4 separate regions of the Homo sapiens genome follow, and all the other regions are linked to region 1. Evidence: promoter capture Hi-C in 16 types of primary human blood cells and fetal thymus (Javierre and others, 2016). All regions are on one chromosome and are shown on one strand. Each heading gives the region's core, a stretch centred on a gene start or on the middle of the fragment in contact. The rest is flanking DNA. Distances are from core to core; before and after follow the strand shown.

Region 1 (3,530 bases), core at 595-3,094:
TTTTTTCACATCGTATTATCATAGGAGAATTCAAACTTCAAAATGTTGCCCTCATAGTTATTCCAGGAAAAACTAATTTTGGAGTGTGTAAACTGTTTTACTTTCCATGTTGAATAATCTGACTAATTTTCCTTGATAAAAATCAAGATTATAGCAATGAATTTTCTAAAACACTTATAATATGAACAATAAGTTCAAGAAATGAAGAAAGAAGAAAAGCACTGCCTTTTCCTTTTTCATAAACCATTTATGAGTTCCCAATATTCTTACCTGAAGTACTTGGGAGCTCAAACTGTTTGGAGCCTAAATAATTCTACTAAGTATTTTCAGTTCTTGTTTTGGTTCCTTCTTAACCAAGTTAAGTGAGAACTTCCAAGGGACTTCACAGAAGTAAAAATGCCCCCTAAATAATCAATGGCACTGTTCTTTCGTTTGACAAATATGTATTCACGATCTACTAAGTGCAAGACTCCGTAACCCTGGGTCACTGCAAAGTAGGTATTATCAGGGTTCAACTAAAGAAACAATTGATAGAGGGGCAAATGCAGTTTTAGAGAAGATAAAGTGGGGTGTGGGATTGGTTCAAGCTTCATAATAACGCTGCAAAGGCACAGCTTCCCCTATCAAGAAACAGCAGCACGTAGCAGGGCAAACAAATGTGCAGATGGCTCCAAGCTCTTTATTTAATGTGCACTGTATGACTCAACTATCTGGTCCTATGCTTACTGCTGTGGACTCTTCTCTAAGCTTTTCTTCATTCATTTACTCATTCATTCAACCACTATTTACTGTAAAAGACTCCGTTCTAGTGTGTTGCTGGGAAAACATCGGTGAATAAAATATGCAAAGCATCAGTTTTCCAGGAGCTGACTTGGGGAGGAGGAGGAATAAAACGAGGGAGAAGCAGAGTTCAAGAGACAAATGAATGGGCAGGACATGATAATTTGGGATGGGGACAAGAGCTGTGTGGAAAAAAACAGGATGAGGTTGAGGGGGAGATTACGAACCACCACACTTGTTAAGTATTAACATTACTCCCACCTCCACCCTGAGTTCTCACAGCACTTACCATTCTGCACTGTAAATACCAGCCGGCAGCAGACTTGCAGCCTGCGCGACTATGTAAGCCAAGAGTAATCTGAAAAACTATCCTTTTCCCTTGCCTAGGGGAAATTTACAAACGTAAATATGTGTAAATTAATATACAAGCTAATATACACGTTGACGAACGGACGAAATGGTTGAAAGAACGAACTCGCAATGAACTACAACACTTTCTCCGGTCAAAGTAAAAGCCATTCGCTCCAGAGCCCCAAGTAAGCCACAAGTTGTACATTGTAGGAGACAACAGTCCTCAACAGCAGCTCAGGTTCCAGCACCTCCCTCCGGGCGCCAGAACTACGTCAACACAAATATCACCTGCGGGCGCGAGCTAGCCCAGAAAACCGGTGCTAGAAGGGCCGCTCCGCGCCACCCGGCGGATTCCTGCAACAGAGTTTCGAGGCAAGAAGTTTCGAAGAGGGGGCCACGAACCCCAGCTCTCCGGCCCTGCTCCACCCCCCAAATAGATTTCTCTCCCGCCTCCCGCTTAACTCCGTCGGCGCCGGAGGGATCGAGGCAGGGAAGGAGGCCTACACATGGCCGCCCAGGCCCACAGAGGCCCAAGGGAAGTAGGCTAAGCAGCCAGGCCAAGGAGAGGTTGCGTTTTCAGGGAAAAGGCGTCTCCAAAAGCACTCACCCCAGCGCCTCCAGTGTGTCCAGCACGTCTCCCTCCATCGTCGGTTGGGGACCCGGCTCCGGCCCTCTCATGGTCCTTTGGCCCAGAGCTGTTCGGCGCTCTAAGTAGCCCGCCGGAAACTAGCGTCACCGCGCCAAGGTTCCGGTCCGGGTCTGGCCGGTAACTGCCTGAGAGCACAGCTGAAGAAGGGCGCAAAGGTTCCCAGCCCCGAGGCAATAAACACTTCATAGTGCCTAAAACCGCTGCGTGTAACGATAATAATTTTTTAAAAGAATAGTAGAAATAATAAATAATAGTAATAAAGAGTTCTCTGTGTTGGGACTTTTCTGTGTGTTCAAATAAATTTTAGCAAATATCGTGGTATCGGGTTGATCTCAACCTATCCGATTCCAGACCTTTTTAATAACAGAAATCTGAAATAAAATTATAATTATCTTCAGCTAAAATTAGTAACTAATATCACATGCCTACACATATAATTTTTAAATCAATATACACGACGATGCTTCAACTTGAAGGAAAAAATGAAGTAATTTATAACAAGGTAATATTTTTCTCCTTATGAAATGCGGAAGACCAATGAAGTGATCAGATGCTTGCATCTATCTATGTAGAATCCCCTCAACTGCATATTCAGATGATGTGCTTCATTGCTGACAAAGCATTAGTTGTATAAGCAACAAACATACCGCCAGCAAAGTAAGGTAGTTGATGTGGTTTTCCAAAATTGTGGCGAATTCTCTGTAAAGTTCCAAACAAACAAAACATAATATACCCTCTGTGTACTATCCATGAAGAATTCAATCTCTTATCTAAAGGATTTAAAAAATGTATTTTAGGGTTCATATGTAAAAGGTACTAAGAGTATAAGGTTAGATCATTATTAGCAGGCATGTCACCTACATGAATACTCTAGCAGAACTGTTGGAAATCCTGCATGAAGTATAACTATTGATCCCTTGTATGGACCTGTCCCTTCCATTGCAGACTACATAGCATTCGTAGCCCCAGTCCAATAAAGACCAGTAATGCTCTCGCCTTCCTAATTATGGTTACAAACAAAAAGCATACCCATAAATGTGTAAAACACTCAAAGGTAAGCTGTAGTAGTCCACTCTCATATTGCTATAAAGATATACCTGAGACTGGGTAATTTATAAAGAAAAGGGGTTTAATTGGCTCATGGTTCCACAGGCTGTACACGAAGCATGATGCTGGCATCTGCTCCACTCCTGGGGAGGCCTCAGGAAATGGACAGTTGTGGCAGAAGGGGAAGGGGGAGTGCAGCTATCACGTGGCCGGAGTAAGAGGAAGAGAGAGGGTGCAGGGAGGCAGGGAGGTGCCACACACTTTTTTTTTTTTTTTCAGTCTCGCACTGTCGCCCAGGCTAGAGTGCAGTGGCATGATCTCAGCTCACTGCAAACTCCGCCTCCCGGGTTCACGCGATTCTCCTGCCTCAGCCTCCCGAGTAGCTGGGATTACAGGCGCCCACCACCACACCCGGCTAATTTTTGTATTTTTAGTAGAGACGGGGTTTCACCAGGTTGGTCAGGCTGGTCTCGAACTCCTGACCTCGTGATCTGCCACACACTTTTAAAAAACCAGATCTCATGATAAACTCACTCACTATACAGTGCCAAGGCAGGAATGGTGTCAAACCATTCAAGAGAACTCTGCCCTCATGATCCAATCACCTCCCACCAGGTCCCTCCTCCAACATTGGGGATTATAATTTAACATGAGATTTGGGCACAGACACAGATCCTAACCATATCATAAACTCAACCATACA
Region 2 (3,530 bases), core at 736-3,235, 4.4 Mb after region 1:
TAAGCATTTGATCAGCCGAGTCCACTGCTCCCATATTCTCGTTATAATCCACAATGACACGTGGCCTTTTAGTTTTCTTTCCATTTCTATTGTTTACTTCAATCACAGTATCATTGTGGAATGTTGACAACATTGTCACCTCCTTGCCGTCACACCATTTCAGTGCCATAAGTTCACCACAGAATCTGGCTACAGTCGTCCCCTTTGCAATCCTTTTTTTCAGATCATTTGGAATCTGTTTTCTGTTCAAACGAGCTGTCCCAACTGCATCAGTCCTATTTTGATGTAATTCTCTGAAAAGCATGGGAGATATATTAAAGTTATCGAGGAAGACACAATACCCTTGGCCAAGAAGGTCATTGACCAAGGTAAGAACAATGCGTGATGATTTCAGGCCATCCGCTGAATCTTTCAAATTCATGCCAGGCCCTGTGTGAACAAGCGCATTCCACACATAACCAGACTGACTTTCACAAAGTACATATAGCTTCAGACCAAATCGTACTCGTTTTGTCGGGAGGTACTGCTTCATAGCTAATGGCCCCTTGAACAGCATCAGTGATTCATCAACTGCAATGTTTCTGTTTGGAGTATATACAGTGGAAAATTTATTTACAAGAAAGTCGAACACAGGTTTGATCTTCTGCAATGAAATCTGGGCCTTTGATTGACCAGCAGATATAGAAGAATTGTTGACAAAATGCAGGCACCGAAACAAAAGTAAAAATCTTTCACCAGTCATAATTTGCCTGAGATAAGGTGTATCCAAAAGAGGCCTTGTTGACCAAAACATCTCCAGCTCAGGTTTCTGCACAATACCTTGCAGTAACATTACTGCAAAAAAGACTTTGAGCTCGTCATTGTCAGTGTCTTTCCATTTATCCATTCGCGAAAATCCTTTCGGACCCGGTGGCTTTGAAGCCAACAAGGCAGCTTGGGCATTTGTTTCTCTAGTAATTTTTGAAACTAATTCCTCAGTAAAGAACAGTTCAAAATACTGCAATGGGTCAGTGATATCACTGACATCGACTTTTCTGCCAGGTGTGCCGGTAAAGTCATACCTTTGACGTGGAATCATAGCACGAGCTGACCATTTCATGGAGCGCCCTGAGTCACTTGATGTAGAGCTCTTTCCATCAGATTCTAAATGGGACAGAGGCCTGATCTTATCGGCTTCTAAAGCACTATCCGAAAAATTATCAGAATCATCTATTTCCGAAAAATCAGATTCATCAAATGAATCTTCAGCCAACAACTGTTCGAGACCGGTATTACTATCACGCATAGGAATGCTACGTTTTCTAGGATTTGACATTTCAGCGATCGAGAATTACTATATTTTGTAGATGGAAATCCCACTACTAAAAACAGAATGCTATAAACAGAATGATGTCTTTTGTTTCAAAAGTCAATATACCAGAACCATGCGAAAATAACAGAAGCGAGATATTTCGTGGCAAACTTTGGGAGTAAGGTTGGCACTGTAATCCACGAGTTATCTCGGCGTAAACGCTGCAGTCGCAGGCACAGCAGCGCGTAATCTCGGGGCTAAGGAGAAATGAGTTAAACGCACACAGACAGAAGAAGCCTTTCATCTCATACGTCTTGGGGAGTCTCTAGAAGTTTTTTGAAAGGTCTCTTCTGGATGGTGTTTCTCCCGAAGCCAGTCTCGTCATCTTTTACTCCCGTGAGGTCCTTGGCCTCCGTGGCTGCCGCAGCAACACACACTTGACTTTCACTTCATGGGCAGTCCCCTTCATAGGCACTTGACACAGGCTCTGTGCGCCGTCTTCCAATCCAGAGTGCCGGGAGTTAAGGGCAGTACTTCCGCCTTACTTCCGCCTCGCTAGTCGATCGGCCATGATCTCTTCCCTCTGGTTGGATCCCACAGCTTATGACAGAAACGGGCGCGCAGTGATGACAACATCAAGCCGCCAGCGGCGGCGGTGGCGGCCGGGAGACTGGGAGGGCTTCCGGGGCTGCCGGTCTGAGTGCAGAGCTGCTGTCATGGCGGCCGCTCTGTGGGGCTTCTTTCCCGTCCTGCTGCTGCTGCTGCTATCGGGGGATGTCCAGAGCTCGGAGGTGCCCGGGGCTGCTGCTGAGGGATCGGGAGGGAGTGGGGTCGGCATAGGAGATCGCTTCAAGATTGAGGGGCGTGCAGTTGTTCCAGGGGTGAAGCCTCAGGACTGGATCTCGGCGGCCCGAGTGCTGGTAGACGGAGAAGAGCACGTCGGTTTCCTTAAGTGAGCATCCTGAGGGCAGCGGGAAAAAGGCTGGGATGGAGGCCGGACAGGGACCCCACCAGGAGAGTTAAGTGTCAGGACGGGACAACGTCGCTGTCTCAGACTGAAGGGGAGGGTGCCGCTAACGGTCTATGCCGGGAGACCTTGGGAGGCAGTCGGATGCTTTCCCTTTCCTGGTCCTGTACCTCTGGAATGAGCATGGCAGGCGCTCACCCCCTGCCATGGTCAGAGCATGGAGTCAGTTATTTCCAACCTTATTTTGGCCCCATGTGGGGACGATCATTCCTGGGCCCTGGGGACAGGTGGACCCTTATTAGTCTCTTGTTGGATTCTTTTATATCTCATCTGGTTTCCCTAGAACCTAGTCGTTTTTTGCATTCACTTCAGTCTTTTGGTAGCTTGTTATTATGTAGAAAGATGCGACACAAGTGGGAATTCTCAAAACCCAAAGGGCTTCTAGTGACGACATAGACTGGGAGGCTAATGTTACTGCTTCTAAAATTAATAGGCTCTGAAATCCCTAATCAAAGCACTTTTTTTTTCTTTTTTTTTTTGCTTGGGGGTGGGATCGTTGTTCTTTTTTACAGTTGAATTCATCGAGAGATTTGCTATATCACACTTGTCATTTATGTGAGACTAGGGTTCCTCTACATTGCTTTCTTGCTTCTGTCCTTTCATGCTATTAGTGGAAGTGGGTTTTCTGTCTATATTAAAAGACAGGATGAATTTGTTAGCACTAGTTTTGCAGCAGCCTGCTTTTGAAATGTCTAGGCACGCGTATGTTGTTTTAAATCTTTCCACCCTTACTTGGAGGTGAAACTGTAAACTGAAAGCAAATAATTAGGAAGTATTTCCTTTGGTGGGTTCGTACACCAGCAAATGGTATCTGAAAATCAGACAACTTAAATGTAGACATTTAAATCCAAATCTGATTTACATATTTGTTCAGATCATCTAAGTGCCCTTGAGTGGTTATTCAACCTCAGATTAATAAATAGTGACAAATTTACAACCAGTATTTTACTGCTGTCTGTCATTAAGAATCTGGCATTAGGGCATTCGTTAGAGTTTACCCTAATTAATGATGTTTTAATGATAAAGTTCTCATTAAGCTTTAGGAATAAGCCTTAATTGACCATTTGGCCACTCTTCTGTATACAGTTCTTTTAAAAAGCATTTAATTTCTGTTTAAAAATAGTATATTAGAAACAAAGTAGGAAAACAACCCTTAATGTTTCATTGTATCTTTCTTTTTATTTTTTTGAGACAAGGTCTTTTTCTGTTACT
Region 3 (3,530 bases), core at 397-2,896, 4.2 Mb after region 1:
TGCTGCCTCCTCCAGGCCCGCTTAGCTCAATGGCCCACTTGAAGCGCCGGCCTCGGTTAGCCACCAGGCCCCCCTGGGCCGTCATGGCAACAGCTGCGTCCTATAGCCTCGATGCTTCTCAGTCCAAAGCGTACTCCACAACAGGCCCACCAGCGTTCTCCGCTTTGTCTCACTCTGCAAATGCACTTCCGGCGCGTGAATACGACGTCATTTCCGCCCTGGAAATTGGTGGTGCTGTGGGTTGAGGAGTCCGGGTTTGGATTTAGAAAAGCAGGGAGGAAAAAAAACCAGGCAAGACTTAGTGCTTCCTAAAGCCACTTCCGCGCGCTCCCCTTTTGAATGTCCTTGTTATGTGTTCCCTGACCTCTGAGGTGCACTTTATGGGGCTGAAGGAAAGCCCATACTGACTCAGCGTTAAGAATTGGTGGGCGGATCACCTGAAGTCAGGAGTTCGAGACCAGCCTGGCTAACATGGTGAAACCCCGTCTCTACTAAAAATACAAAATATTAGCCGGGCTTAGTGGCGGGCGCCTGTAATCCCAGCTACTTAGGAGGCTGAGGCAGGAGAATCGCTTGGATCCGGGAGCCGGAGGTTGCAGTGAACTGAGACCGAGCGATTGCACGCCAGCCTGGGCAGCAAGAGCGAAACTCTGTCTCAAAAAAAAAAAAAAGGAAGCCAAGAAAAGCTTCTTAACCTCCTACGCGCTCCCTGGAACAAAAGATTCAAATCCTGGGTTTAAATCCTAGCTTGACCTTGAGCGAGTTACTTAGTAGTTTCTGAGTATTGAATGTCCACTGTGTCATGTGTTTATTTCATTTCACTTGCACAGTAACCTTGCGAGGTAAACAGTTCTAACCACATTCTGCACAAAGGCAAGGCAGCATTGTGGGCATGGAAGGGGACATGGGCTCGGTATTCAGTTAGCCTGCGTTTGTTGTTGTTTGTTTTGGGTTTGTTTTTTGAGACAGGGTTTCACTCCGTTGCCGAGGCTGTAGTGCAGTGGCGCTATCACGGCTCACTGCAGCCTCGACTTCCCCGGCTCAAGCGATCTTCCCACCTGAGCGTTCCTTCCAACCTGAGCGTTCCGAGGAGCTAGGACCACAGGGCGCGCCACCACGCCCCAGTCTTGTTTTGTTTTGTTTTGTTTTGTTTTGACAGGGTTTCGCTATGTTGCTCAGGCTGCTCTCAAACTCTTGGGTTCAAGTGATTCTCCTGCCTTGGCCTCCCAAAATGTTGAGATTACAAAGGCATGGGCCACTGCACCCAGCAGATGGCCTCCTTTTGAATCCTGGTTTCACCACTTAATAATTGTATGACCTTGGGCAAGTTGAATTTGTTTCAGCCTCTTCATGTAAAAGTTGGATAATCTACCTACTTTCAAGGCTTGTGAGATTAGTGCCCACCACATATCTGGTGTTTGGTTTGTTTGTGTTTTTGTTCGAGACGGAGTTTTGCTTTTGTTGCCCAGGCTGGAGTGCAATGGCACTATCTCGGCTCACTGCAACCTCCGTCTCCCGGGTTCAAGCAATTCTCCTGCCTCAGCCTCCCGAGTACCAGGGATTACAGGCGCACGCCACCACGTCCAGCTAATTTTGTATTTTTAGTAGAGATGGGATTTCACCGTGTTGGTCAGGCTGGTTTCGAACTCCCGACCTCAGGTGATCTGCCTGCCTCGGCCTCCCAAAGTGCTAGGTTATGTGGTGTTTTTAATGATGTATCACATCATTACCAAATAACACCATTGATGTGTTTTTAATGACGTGTCATTAAATAATGTATGTCATTCTTTAAAGTGATTGGGTTTTGTATGGTATACCTTTTTCATAATATAGCCTATTATTGGACATTTAAATTGTTTCCTGTTTTCCTTCCTTTTATAACCAGTGTTGCTGTGAACATATCTGTATGTCTTTTCTTATTTCCTAAAGTTATAGTCCTAGAAGTGAAATTGGAGTTGCTGGATCAAAGAGTATGCACATTTTTAAAGAATTTTCATTTTAAATGCCCACAGGAGCCAGGCGTGGTGGCTCACACCTGTCATCCCAGAACTTTGGGAGGCTGAGGCAGGAGGATTGCTTTAGCTCAGAAGTTCAAGACCAGCCTAGGCAACATAGTGAGACCTTGCCTCTGCAAACAACAACAAAAAAAATTAAAATGTCCACTAGGAAAAATGGCACCATTTACATTTCACAGTCTATAATTTTTTTAATAGTTTGAAATGGTACTGTATTATTTTTTAATTTGTATTTCTTTGACTCCAAGTTATTCGATATGGCTGGAGTTAGGGGGAAGGAGATGCTGTGGGAGGTAAGGTTGAAAAAGGCTTCCTTGGCCAACAAAAAAGTTGGGACTCTTGAAGATGATGATGATGTAAGAGAGGCTGAAGATTGCCACCTCCACTTTATTTTCTGATTTTAAAAATATGTGTTCATAGCAGACTACTTAAACAAGGCAGAAATGGAAGTCTTTTGCCTCTCCAATCCATCCTAAAATGTGTATCTATCTGATTGTAGGAAGACCTAACTATAGATTGTGTTTCTGCTCCTTTCTACTTTTTGTCTTTACCACGTTCTGTCTCATGAACCTTATATTTATCTCAAGCTTCTGACCCTATTGGGCATTCTTCTTTGTTGCATTATATGCTGCATAATAGCACTTACCACATTGCATTTTGTTTGTTAAAGTCCCCTGAGCACTTATTTCTACCCCTCTATAGGCAACCCTAAATCCCCCCAGGTCAGAAGCTATATATTATCTTTGAGCCTGTTGCCTAGAACATAGAAAGTACTGAATAAATGTTTAGCGAATGTGAGTAAATTAAATTGAAAGTAAACAAACACCAAGATGTGAATGTACTATAACTACACTTGTGCAAAATAAAACATAAAAATGGATATACATTCTATTGGGGCAATAATTTTCACGCAATTTTGTCTAATTTTCAAGATAATCTTATTACACTTTTCTTTTTTTTTTTTGAGACAGAGTCTCACTCTGTCACCGAGGCTGAAGTGCAGTGGCACGATCTTGGCTCACTGCATCCTCTGCCTCCCAGGTTCAAGCAATTTTCCTGTCTCAGCCTCCTGAGTAGCTGGGATTACAGGTGCCCGCCACCACGCCCTGTTCATTTTTGTATTTTTAGTAGAAATGGGGTTTCACTGTGTTGGCCAGGCTAGTCTCAAACTCCTGACCTCAGGTGATCCACCCACCTCGCCCACGCAAAGTGATGATTACAGGCATAAGCCACTACACCTGGCCTTCTTATTACATTTTAATACTTTTTTTTTTTTTTTTTTTTTTGAGATGGAGTCTTGCTCTGTTGCCAGGCTGGAGTGCAATGGCGCAATCTCGGCTCACTGCAACCTCCGCCTCCCAGGTTCAAGCAATTCTTCTGCCTCAGCCTCCCAAGTAGCTGAGACTACAGATGTGTGCCACTACGCCTGGCTAATTTTTGTATTTTCAGTGGAGACAGGGTGTCACCACATTGGCCAGGCTGATCTCGAACTCCTGACCTCGTGATCTGCCTGCC
Region 4 (3,530 bases), core at 495-2,994, 3.5 Mb after region 1:
CTCTGAACAAACCCAGAGAACATTTGTGGGTTCTCTTGGCAAACATGGAACATATAAAACAATTGGCAATAGAAAGAAGAAAACATTGACTTTGCCATTTTCTTGGCAAAATATGGGAAAAAATTTGAAAGGCATCCTTACGACAGAAAACATATTAAGCATTGATAATTCAGTGAATAAGAAAGACTTGTCAATCTGTGGTTCATCAGGTGAGGAATTCTTTAATAACTGTGAGGTACTTCAGTGTGGTTTTTCAGTTCCAAGGGAAAACATACGTACTAGACATAAGATATGTCCTTGTGACAAATGTGAGAAGGTATTTCCTTCTATATCCAAACTAAAAAGACACTATTTAATTCATACTGGACAGAGGCCCTTTGGCTGTAATATTTGTGGGAAATCTTTTAGACAGTCAGCTCACTTAAAAAGACATGAACAGACTCATAATGAAAAGAGTCCTTATGCATCTCTTTGCCAAGTAGAATTTGGAAACTTCAACAATCTTTCTAATCATTCAGGTAATAATGTTAACTATAATGCTTCCCAACAATGTCAGGCTCCTGGTGTTCAAAAATACGAGGTCTCAGAGTCAGATCAAATGTCAGGAGTTAAGGCAGAGTCACAGGATTTTATTCCTGGTAGCACCGGGCAACCCTGTCTTCCTAATGTACTTTTGGAATCAGAGCAAAGCAATCCTTTTTGCAGTTATTCAGAGCATCAGGAGAAAAATGATGTCTTCCTGTACCGATGCAGTGTTTGTGCTAAAAGTTTCCGATCTCCATCTAAACTGGAAAGACACTACCTAATTCATGCAGGGCAGAAACCATTTGAATGCTCAGTTTGTGGCAAAACATTCAGACAGGCTCCTCACTGGAAGAGACATCAGCTTACTCACTTTAAAGAACGACCACAAGGGAAAGTGGTTGCCTTAGATTCGGTTATGTAAATTGTCGCAACCACTAACAATTGTGGTCTCTGGTGATCTTATTTTTAAAGCCTGTATTATTTAAAATGCATTTTTATTGAAAGGCCTGCATTAAACTGAATGGTTTCACAGGCATTTGCTTGTCCTGCATAGTAAGGAGGTAGAATACATAGAAAATTAATACAATGTTTTAGAAACAGCCAAGTTAATTTTAGAGGCAAGAACATGATTTGATGCTATAAAGTAGGCATTTTAATATTGTAAACATATACTTTGGCTGTATTGAAAAATATAAATCCATGATGGCTGTACAAATAATTTAGCCTCATTCATTTTTTAAAGGAATTATTCCTTAAGACATGCCATCTCTTTTTAGATATACTCAAAAGACTGAGAGGCAAAACTTGGCTTTTAGCTGCAGCACATAGCCCTGTTATATTTGATTTATTTTACATTTCATATGAAAGCATAATTTTGTCCACATGTGACTCAAATTGCATTGGTAATTTTTTTTTTTTTTTTGTAAGTTAAAAAAACTACAGAGACACTAAAGGTGAAAATGGATGAGACAATTATAGTATTATTTTCATTGGTCTTTTTTTTTGAGATGGAGTCTCACTCTTTCGCCAGGCTAGAGTGCAGTGGCGCCATCTAGGCTCACTGCAACCTCCGCATCCCAGATTCCAGCGATTCTCCTGCCTCAGCCTCCTGAGTAGCTGGGATTACAGGTGCCTGCCATCACGCCTGGCTAATTTTTGTATTTTTAGTAGAGACGGGGGTTCACCAAGTTGGCCAGGATGGTCTCGATCTCTTGACCTTGTGACTCACCCGCATCGGCCTCCCAAAGTGCTGGGATTACAGGCATGAGCCACCGCACCCGACGGTCTTTTCAAAGCTATTTATTTTTAGGACTATGTGGTAATTTCACCTTCAGGTGATAAGGATTTTTTTTTTCTCCCAGCTAGTGCTATCTTTCTCAAAATAATTTAAAAGTAGGCGAGAGGCTAGGATGTACCTATATTTACCATGTTTACTTACCAGGAATATTTTCTAAGTGCCATAGTCTTTTTCATAATACGTATGAGTTTTACCTTTTCAGAGGAATAATTTCAAGTCATTTATTTGCTCATTAATGATAGCAGTAGTCATAGACTTAAGACTATTCTAGAGATCTTCATCTCCATAAGACTTTTACATTTATTTTAGTAAACTTTTCTTTCTATGCCTCTTTAATGGAGTGGTTCTGTTATTTAAGCCTGTTCTAAGTTTGATCAAATGGCAATGACTAGGTCTAGTTTTAGTTTTTATTTTTGCAGGAGTCTATTGCTAAAGAATTTTATTTTGATGCTTGTTAAATTTTTATTTTAATTAATAAGGTAGTCATTCCTGTAGAGGGATAAGATGCTTGTAGAGTTGTGGGTATCATTCCAAATAGAACTGTTATGATTTGGGAAATATTCTTTACTACAAAGGACTTATTTCATAATTACAAATTTTCCTTCATATTTGCCTTTGTTTATAAAATCTTCAGGAATGACATTCTCTAGCAATAAAAGGAATGAACCGTTATGTTTCTAAGCTGAAAAGAGGAACAGGTGGGTAATTATCCTGCCATACTTAAATATAGTGGAAAATCCTCTATTGAGAATGTGGATAAATGAACAATTGTAAGTTTTGCATCATAAACTGAGAACTTTCTTTTGACAGGGGGGAGGCGGGAGGGATAGTAGGTGGGGGTGATCTGCTTGCTTCTTTTACCACAGGTGATTTTTAAGTAACTTGGGTTTAATTTACAGAGATGAAACATGACAGTCTGAGTAAAATACCCAGTGATGTAGAAGTGTGCCTGTTTATTATGTAGATACAGACATCCAGCAAAAACAGGAGAATCACATGCTTTAAAGAACACTTTCTCTTAGGTTTCCTTGAGATATGTTCCTCCAGTGCAAGCAAGATAATGGTTTACAGAATTTGCTTTACACAAAACTTGTCAAGAACTCATCTGTTAAAAGCAAGGAATAACTAGTTTATATTTTCCAATAATGTTCAAGGTTTTCTCCTTAATATGTTTGAAATTATTGATTTTGGCATTTTTCTAAGCAATTTATGTAATTTTATTTGAAGAAAATGTTTTGTATAATGTTTTTCCCAGCCTAAACAGGGAGAGTCCTAACAGTGTTGTGCTTGTATGATTCTGAGACTTTATTTGCGTAAGTGATACTACTATACTTTATTTTTGACCCATGCCTTTTTAAGCTGTTTCATATTGAAAGGTGGAATATTGTAAAAATTTTGTCAAAGATGTACTGTAGTGCTATTTGAAGTACCTGTAACAAAACAGTTGGCCCTCTGTATCCATGTACTCTGCATCTGTGGATTAAACCAATTGCAGATCAAAAATATTAGAAAAAATAAAAATAATACAAATAAAAATACAGTATAACAGTTATTTAAATAGCATTTACATTGCATTAGGTATTAGTCTAGGGATAAAGTATACAGGCGGATGTGCGTTGGTTATATACAAATATGTCATTTTATGTAAGGGACTTGAGTATACTTGGATTTTTGGTATCTGTGGGTTGGGGGGACGGTCCAGGAACCA

The links. Contacts are between HindIII fragments. The CHiCAGO score rates a contact against its expected background, and 5 or more counts as called.
Region 2: the fragment with the promoter of EMC7 here is called in contact with the fragment with the promoter of FAM98B in region 1 in 1 of 17 cell types (non-activated CD4 T cells); the score reaches 5.3 in non-activated CD4 T cells.
Region 3: a contact is called between a fragment that was not itself captured here and the fragment with the promoter of FAM98B in region 1, in 4 of 17 cell types (total B cells, non-activated CD4 T cells, naive CD4 T cells and 1 more). The highest score is 7.9, in total B cells.
Region 4: a contact is called between a fragment that was not itself captured here and the fragment with the promoter of FAM98B in region 1, in 5 of 17 cell types (total CD4 T cells, non-activated CD4 T cells, naive CD4 T cells and 2 more). The highest score is 5.8, in total CD4 T cells.

The regions. Positions count from the first base shown.
Region 1 is chr15:38,452,441-38,455,970 of GRCh38, reverse strand. It overlaps FAM98B (family with sequence similarity 98 member B), which reads right to left and starts at 1,844. Exons shown (of 8, transcript NM_173611.4): 1 at 1,739-1,844. The coding sequence starts at 1,809. RefSeq lists enhancers at 1,427-1,526, 1,587-1,696. The HindIII fragment of the contact is 3,660 bases long and covers 750-3,530 here.
Region 2 is chr15:34,100,317-34,103,846 of GRCh38, reverse strand. It overlaps EMC7 (ER membrane protein complex subunit 7), which reads left to right and starts at 1,985. Exons shown (of 5, transcript NM_020154.3): 1 at 1,985-2,243. The coding sequence starts at 2,008. It overlaps PGBD4 (piggyBac transposable element derived 4), which reads right to left and starts at 1,764. Exons shown (of 1, transcript NM_152595.5): 1 at 1-1,764. The coding sequence starts at 1,315. RefSeq lists enhancers at 1,555-1,644, 1,675-2,374, 1,984-2,841. The HindIII fragment of the contact is 6,792 bases long and covers 1-3,357 here.
Region 3 is chr15:34,221,670-34,225,199 of GRCh38, reverse strand. It overlaps EMC4 (ER membrane protein complex subunit 4), which reads right to left and starts at 184. Exons shown (of 5, transcript NM_016454.4): 1 at 1-184. The coding sequence starts at 85. The HindIII fragment of the contact is 1,916 bases long and covers 689-2,604 here.
Region 4 is chr15:34,978,775-34,982,304 of GRCh38, reverse strand. ZNF770 (zinc finger protein 770) reads left to right here. Exons shown (of 3, transcript NM_014106.4): 3 at 1-3,530. The coding sequence ends at 946. Among named protein-coding and RNA genes, the nearest start is that of ZNF770, 7.7 kb to the left of the region's middle. The HindIII fragment of the contact is 3,691 bases long and covers 1-3,530 here.